Regions from separate parts of the Homo sapiens genome. Here regions 1 and 2 are each linked to region 3. Evidence: promoter capture Hi-C in 16 types of primary human blood cells and fetal thymus (Javierre and others, 2016). All regions are on one chromosome and are shown on one strand. Each heading gives the region's core, a stretch centred on a gene start or on the middle of the fragment in contact. The rest is flanking DNA. Distances are from core to core; before and after follow the strand shown.

The links. Contacts are between HindIII fragments. The CHiCAGO score rates a contact against its expected background, and 5 or more counts as called.
Region 1: a contact is called between a fragment that was not itself captured here and the fragment with the promoter of ACSM1 in region 3, in 1 of 17 cell types (fetal thymus). The highest score is 5.1, in fetal thymus.
Region 2: a contact is called between a fragment that was not itself captured here and the fragment with the promoter of ACSM1 in region 3, in 1 of 17 cell types (naive B cells). The highest score is 5.5, in naive B cells.

The regions. Positions count from the first base shown.
Region 1 is chr16:21,082,685-21,085,384 of GRCh38, reverse strand. All of the region lies in intron 19 of DNAH3 (dynein axonemal heavy chain 3), which reads left to right. Among named protein-coding and RNA genes, the nearest start is that of DNAH3, 67 kb to the left of the region's middle. The HindIII fragment of the contact is 5,288 bases long and covers 1-2,700 here.
Region 2 is chr16:20,376,723-20,379,422 of GRCh38, reverse strand. All of the region lies in intron 3 of PDILT (protein disulfide isomerase like, testis expressed), which reads left to right. Among named protein-coding and RNA genes, the nearest start is that of UMOD, 25 kb to the right of the region's middle. The HindIII fragment of the contact is 9,970 bases long and covers 1-2,700 here.
Region 3 is chr16:20,696,348-20,699,047 of GRCh38, reverse strand. It overlaps ACSM1 (acyl-CoA synthetase medium chain family member 1), which reads left to right and starts at 1,368. Exons shown (of 14, transcript NM_001318890.3): 1 at 1,368-1,412. It also overlaps a transcript of ACSM3 not described here. The HindIII fragment of the contact is 2,330 bases long and covers 1-2,277 here.

The DNA of each region.
Region 1 (2,700 bases), core at 24-2,523, 390 kb before region 3:
TTTAGTAGAGATGGGGTTTCACCATGTTGGCCAGGCTGGTCTTGAACTCCTGACCTCAAGTGATCCACCCGCCTCAACCTCCCAAAGTTCTGGGATTATAGGCATGAGCCACCGTGCCTGGCTGGGATATTTTTTAATTGTAATTTTAATTAATTGATTTTTAAAATAGAGATGGGGGGGGTCTTACTATGTTGCCCAGGCTGGTCTCAAATTCCTGGCCTCAAGTGATCCTCCTGCCTTGGCCTCCTAAAGTGCTGGGATTACAGGCGTGAGCCACAGTGCCTGGCCATGACTTCTGGTTTTGAAACGCCCCAGCAGAGGGATCCGCAGAGGAGGAGTTGCTGTCAGCTGGTGCTCACGGGGTGCCTCTCTCTACGGACCCAGCCTAACTAGGACTTTGACCTGCATCGGGGGGATGGGGGGGTTAGGGAGCTTAGGTGGGACAGGTGGCCTCTGGTAGTGCCAGGTTTCTCTATGAGATGGCACTATCAAGAGTGTCCTTGTCGATGGCATTTGGAGAACATGCCGCGGGGCCGGGAAAGCCATCTGCTCCACCTGGTGCTTCCTCTATGATGCTATTCTTGTATGTGGGCACTCAGAAAATCCCAACCAGGCCAAGCGAGGTAGCTCACACCACTAATCTCAGCACTTTAGGAGGCCGAGACAGGAGGATCACTTGAGGCCAGGAGCTTGAGGCCAACCTGGGCAACATAGTGTGACCCATCTATTTAAAAAATTAATTAATTTAAATTTAAAAAATCCCAGTCAGGTGCCGTGGCTCACGCCTATAATCCCAGGACTTTGAGAGGCCGAGGCAAGTGGATCGCTTGAGCCCAGGAGTCTGAGAACCAGCCCGGGCCAACACTGCAAAACCCCATCAAGAAATACAAAAAAATTAGCCGGGCGTGGTGGCACATGCCTGTAGTCCCAGCTGCTAGGGAAGCTAAGGTGGGAGCATCACTTGAGCCTGGGAGGTTGAGGCTGCAGTGAGCTGTGATTGCGCCACTGCAGTCTAGCCTGGGCAACAGAGAAAGACCCTGTCTCAATAAATAAATAAATAAATAAATAAAGTAAAAAAATTCTAACCATAATAATAATGATGATATTGAAAATGTACTGAGTACCAGCTATGGTGCTGGGTACTGTGTTGTATACTTTATTTGGATTCTCACATTTCACCCTTAAAACAGGCCTTTGAAGTGGAGATTATTATTATCTCCATTTCACGGATTGGAAAACTGAGACTTGGAGAGATGAATTGTCAGATGGCTAGTTGGTGGTGGGAAAGGGGATTGGAATTTTTCTACACTGTTTGACTCAGCCTGGAAAAGTCAAAAAGGCAAAAAAGGTCCGGTCAGAGGAAGGGAGCGGGCAGTAGGGGGCAGTAAACCACAGTGAGAGAGGGCCGGGGAGCACAGCCCTAGGACAGTGGCTCCCAAGGAGTGAGCCCCTAAATGGAAGCCCAGTGGGCTGAGCAGTTAAGAGGCAAGTTCAGAAAGGACAAAGGCCCCTAGATACTCTCCGGACTGCCCCTAGGCAGAGCCCATTCCTCCCTGCAGTGTATGTAGGTCACACCACAGGCCGCCCTGGGGACAGCCCCAGGCCTGGGGATGTCATTCTCTGCCCTGATGCCTAACTTAGGAGATCCACTGCCACAGATGCTAGCTCTGGCAGGGGGATCTGAAGGATGAGCCATCTGTAGCACTCAAGTCTAGAAGCTGGATCTTCTGAAGCAAGGCCATGGCTGTGCTGGGGGTTCTGGTCATTTACAGAACGTAGGTAGAAAAAGTTAGAGCCTTACGTTTGGGGCACAGACTTTATAGATAACAGCAAAGGGGTTGCTACTGTGGTTTCAAACGAAATGGAAGCCACAAATCTAAAAGGCTTTTTGGATCACTACACTAAGGTGCATTTCTGATGTCCTATTTGCAATTAGTGTTATTTTGGTTATTTTTTCATCATGTGCCTATAACACTCTTGGTCTTCCAAGACCGTTATTTCAACGGTAACTACTTCTGGGTTCCTTGCTTTTGTGCTTTCTGAGTCATTATAAAAAAATCTCCTGGTCTGGCCAGGTGCAGTGGCTCACGCCTGTAATCCCAACACTTTGGGAGGCCGAGGCAGACAAATCACCTGAGGTCAGGAGTTCGAGAGCAGTCTGGCCAACATGGCGAAACCCCATTTCTACTAAAAATACAAAAATTAGCCGGGCGTGGTGCCATGCGCCTGTAATCCCAACTACTTGGGAGGCTGAGGCAGGAAAATCATTGGACCCAGGAGACAGAGGTTGCAGTGAGCCGAGATTGCGCCATGGCACTCCAGCCTGGGTGACAGAGCGAGACTCTCTCTCAAAAAAAAAAAAGTATGGAAAAAGAAAAATTTAAAAAATAATAAAAATTTAAAAAATAATAAAAATTTAACTGTTAAAAAAAAAGCAAGATGGAACAAGGTAACATTTGATCTTAGGGAGAAACTGCACTGATAGATGCCAAAACTGGCCCTCTGTGACTAGTACAAATATAACGTGAGCCATTTGTGTTAATTTTTTTTTTTTTTTGAGATGGAGTCTCACTCTGTTGCCCAGGCTGGAGTGCAGTGGTGCGATCTCGGCTGATTCCTGCCTCCACCTCCCGGTTCAAGCTGTTCTTTTGCCTCAGCCTCCCAAGTAGCTGGGATTGCAGGCACCTGCCACCGTGCCCA
Region 2 (2,700 bases), core at 92-2,591, 320 kb after region 3:
AGGCTGAGGCGGGAGGATCACCTGGAGTTCGAGACCAGCCTGGCCAACATGGTGAAACCCTGTCTCTACTGATACTAAAAAATTAGTGGGGTGTGGTGGCACGTGCCTGTAGTCCCAGCTATTCGGGAGGCTGAGCCAGGAGAATCACTGGAACCCGGGAGGCAGAGGTACGGTGAGCCAAGATTGAGCCCTTACACTCCAGCCTGGGCAACAGAGCAAGACTCTGTCTCAAAAAATAAAAATTAGCCAGGTGTGGTGGTACATGCCTGTAGTCCCAGCTACTCAGGGGGCTGAGGTGGGAGGATGGCTTGAGCCTGGGAGATCGAGGCTGCAGTAAGCCACGACTACACCACTGCACTCTAGCCTGGGTGACAGAAGGATAAACTGTCTCAAAAAAAAAAAATGCCCTAAAATGAGAGCAACTAAATGCCCATTAGCAGAGAATGGACAAATAAGTTGTGGGATATTCACAGCAGTGGAAATGAATCTTCAAGTACATGAAAAACTGTGGCTGAATCTCACAAACATAATGAAACCAGAGCCAAGAACATTTATATGAAGTTCAGGAACAGGCAGACTAATGTAATCTGTTACAAGTTAAGGTGGCAATGGAATACTACAAAGCCATAAAAAGGAATGAGATCGTGTCCTTTGCGGGGACATGGATGAAGCTGGAAGTCATCATTCTCAGCAAACTAACACAGGAACAGAAAACCAAACACACTCACTCATAAGTGGGAGTTGAACAATGAGAACACATGGACACAGGGAGGGGAACATCACACATTGGGGCCTGTCTGGGAGTGGAGGGCGAGGGAAGGGAGAGCATTAGGACAAATACCTAATGCACGCGGGGCTTAAAGCCTAGGTGATGGGTTGATAGGTACAGCAAAGCACCGTGGCACATGTATACCTATGTAACAGACCTGCATGTTCTACACATGTATCCCAGAACTTAAGGTAAAATAAAAAGAAGAAGAAGGAGAAGAAGAGGAAGAGGAAGCAGAAGAAGAACAAGAAGGAGAAGAAGGAGAAGAAGAAGTAGTTAGAGTGGTGGTTACTTTTGGATTGAGGGGAGTAGAGGCTGGGAGTGGGCACAACAGGGACTGCTGAGGATCTGGTGATGTTCTAGTTCTCGATTTGGGTTGTAGTCACACAAGTGTGTTCGTTTTGTAAAAATCCATCTAACCATACATTATCATTTATGCACCTTTCTGCATGTAAATATACTTTATTATAAGTTTTTGAAAAGCCTTCATGTTCTCATGAAATAAAACAAATATAACGAAGGTAGAGCCTTTGCAGTTGATTTAGTAGCTCAGGGTGCATTCATCCAGCCTCAGGTAGCAATTTGTCCTGCTGCAGGACTTTGTATAGGCTGTTTCTCCTAGAAGACTTTCCCTCTCCTTAATGCCTCCTAGTTAACTCCAGAGCATTCTTTTCTTTCTTTCTTTTTTTTTTTCTTTTTAAAGACAGAGTCTTGCCCTATCTCCCGCGCAGGAGTGCGGTGGTGCGAACTTGGCTCACTGCAACCTCCACCTCCTGGGTTCAAGCGATTCTCCTGCCTCAGCCTCCCAAGTAGCTGGGATTACAGGCGTGTGCCACCATGCCTGGATAATTTTTTGTATTTTTAGTAGAGATGGGGTTTCACTGTGTTAGCCAGGATTGTCTCGATCTCCTGACCTTGTGATCCGCCCTCCTCGGCCTCCCAAAGTGCTGGGATTACAGGCATGAGCCACTGCGCCTGGCCCAGTGCATTCTTTATTTTACAGCTCATCCATAATTTCCTCCAGGAAGTCCTCCTTGACTTCACAGTCTAAGTCAGGCATCTTTGCTACAGACTCGCAGAACTTTGATTTCAAACATTTCCTTTGGGTGTAATGATGCCCTTGTTCATGCATTTATTTGATTGTTGTCTTCCTCGACAGAATGAGAGCTGTGAAATGGTGGTAATGTGTTTGTTTCTGTTCATCCTTATATCTCCAGGGCTGAGTACAGCACTTGATAGTAAGCACTCGGTACATATTTGCCAAGTAAATAAATGAGGGAAGAAATAAATGAGTGCGTAAATGAATAACAGTCTGTGGATGTAGTTCAAAGCTACTCACAACGAATATTGCTTTATCTCATAAATTTATTTATTTATTTTAGAGACAAGGTCTCACTCTGTCTCCCAGGCTGATTGTAGCTCACTGCAGCCTTGAACTCCTGGGCTCAAGCAATCCTTCTGCCTCAGCCTCCCAAGTAGCCGGGACTACAGACACATGCCACCATGCCTGGCTAATTTTCTTTTGTTTTTTGTAGAGCTGAGTGTCTCGCTATGTTGCCCAGACTGGTCCCAAACTCCTGGCCCCAAGTGATTCTCCTGCGTTAGTCTCCCAAAGTGCTGGGAAATAGGCATAGGCCACCATGCTTAGCTCATAAACTTATTTAAAATGTTCAGTTTTAATGTTCTATAGCAGATACAAATATATAATATTTTACATTACTTTCCATCATGTGAAACTGATAATCCTAGAAAAACACACGTTCACCTGTGTATAGCCTTCTGTACCTTCTGGCTCACCAATTTGTCTTCCCAGATATAGTATATGTGTCTTAATTTTGGAAGCTAAGACTTTTGTGTGCTTGACACCAACCATGCTATAGCTGAGAAATGGCAGTCAGGAGTGGATGACCTTAAAGGGCATTTGGATCTCA
Region 3 (2,700 bases), core at 119-2,618:
CTTAATTAAGCTCAAGACTTTGGGATTCCAAAGACCCTGCATTTTACCAGGATACCAAATTGTTCCTCTGAGAATCCCAAGTGAATAAAAAGAGCCAACATCGACTATGCCCAGCACCGTGTGCTACATGCTTTTTATAAATTATTTCATCTAGTTCTAACAAACAAATGAAGAAGCAAAGAAAACACCCTGGGAGGTAGGTATTGTTGTTATCATTCCTATTTTACAAATAAGGTAGGTGTTGGGTGCTGTGGCTCATGCCTGTAATCCCAGCACTTTAGGAGGCTGAGGCGGGCAGATCACCTGAGGTCAAGAGCTCAAGACCACCCTGGCCAACATGATGAAACCCTGTCTCTATTAAAAATACAAAAATTAACTGGGTGTGGTGGCGGGCACCTATAATCCCAGCTACTTGGGAGGCTGAGGCAAGAGACTCAATTAAACCTGGGAGGCGGAGGTTGCAGTGAGCCAAGACCATGCCATTGCATTCCAGCCTGGGTGACAGCATGAGATTCTGTCTCAAAAGCAACCGAAAACCAATTAAGGGAGGTGAGGCCCAGAGCAAGAAGGTCCACAAAGATGACATGGAGGTTAAGTGGCAGACCTAAGGCTCAAACTCAGACCTTTCTGCCTCCAGACCTCCAGAGCCCAGGCTCTTATCCATTAGGCTACACTGACTCTCAGCTGTCATTTAAGGGAGACTATGGTGATGTAGGGCTGGGAAGGGGGAGCAGGTTAGCCACAGAGAACTAGTGAAAATGCACCATTGGATCTAGTTCATTCACACCCCTAGCCATGCCACCGGAATTGGAGGTGACTTCGTATACGTGGTTTGTTTTTCTTTTTTTTTTTTTTTTTGAGACAGAGTCTCTGTCTCCCAGGCTGGAGTGCAGTGGCATGATCTCGGCTCACTGCAAGCTCCGCCTCCCGTGTTCACGCCATTCTCCTGCCTCAGCCTCCCGAGTAGCTGGGACTACAGGCGCCCACCACCACACCCGGCTAATTTTTTGTATTTTTAGTAGAGACGGGGTTTCACCGTGTTAGCCAGGATGGTCTCCATCTCCTGACCTCGTGATCCGCCCGCCTCGGCCTCCCAATGTGCTGGGATTACAGGCGCGAGCCACTGCGCCCGGCCCACATGGTTTGTTTTCTAAGTGATTATCTCTCCGTGGAGGCCTGTAATTGTTTCTGTCCTATTTTACCTGAGCATCTCCTCCCCCTACTGAATTACCCAATTCCTAACAAGTTCTCTGTTCAAGGTCCCCCTTCGCTGTGGCCAGAAGCCAAGTTCTGCTGGGTGCACAATCCTGCGGATCACCTGATCAGAGAGAACTGAACCTACAAAAGAGAGCTCAACCTCCTTTTCCATACCTACCAGGGACCTAGTTCAGCTACGTCCTAAACAGTACCAGGTAAGACAGAGGTGAAGGTCAGCTTCTATCTGTGTGTGTGTGTGTGTGTGTGTGTGTGTGTGTGTGTGTGTGTGTGTGTAATCCAATTTTAAGTTCTGGCAATGCTACTTTTAAGTTGAGTGACCTTGGGCAAGTCACTTAACTTCTTGGCACTTCATTTTAGAGGCAAAATGACAATGGTGATATTGGGTGAGAGGAATAAATAGGAACGTACATGTAATATGTTTAGCACAGTGGCTGGCATGTAAATGGGGACTGGTTTAGTGTCAGGCAGCTCTGAATGTGGTGAGCCGTGGGAGACAGGCACAAAGTCAGAGATGAATGTTTGAAGGAAATCTTTTCTATCTATGCAGAAGTTGGCTCACTTTCTATAAAGTGAATGCCTTCTAAAAAAAATTATCCAAGCATAGTAATACATGCCTGTGGTCCCAGGTACTTGAAAGGCTGAGGCAGGAGGATGACTGTAGCCCAGGAGATTGAGGCTGCAGTGAGCTATGATCACACCACTGCACTCCAGTCCAGGTGACAGTTTCAAAAAAAATGGTTAACATCTAATGGGGAGGGGGTTGGCTTCAGAATTTGCTGGGAGTTAAAAGGTACCTCAACATTTATTGAGTCCTTACCGTGCACTTCATTCAGTGCCAGCAAGTAAATTATCACACTAATCCTTATGGGGAGCTGGGAAGAAGGTATTACTACTGTGCGCTTAAGTTCAGAGACATGAACAGCACCAAAGACCCAGCTGCTAGACAACAGAGACAAACATCTAGCCCTGGCTCTGTAACTCTGGGATACCCTATAACACAGTAAGTATGTTGCTTCATTAAATAGCTTTATCAGTCCCAAGTCCTGTGAAGTCAAAGCTTAGTTGCAGGAGCTGTTCAAGGCACTATGTATCTGGGAATACAGTGGGGAGCCCAGCTGCCTCTCAAAGCTACCATGTCAAATTGCTTTCAGAATGCACTTTAAGCAGTTCAGAAAATTGTTCTTTAAAATGATTTCATAGGATGTGCTTTAATGATATGCTCTAACAGGGTAGGAACTCTTTCAGTTTAATTAATCTCCAATAGTATCTAAAACTGTACATGGTACATCTATAGTAAATACTTGAGAAAGAAAAAATACATTTTTCTATAACTCAGATAATTTGTGGGCACACTGGCTTTTCTCTTTCTGACTTTCATCACTCAGTTTTCTGAATTATGACAAAGAAGGGAAGAATCTAACTTTTTGTTGAGCACTTACTATGTCCAGCACGGTGAGAAATAGACAAACTAAGCTTTGTGAA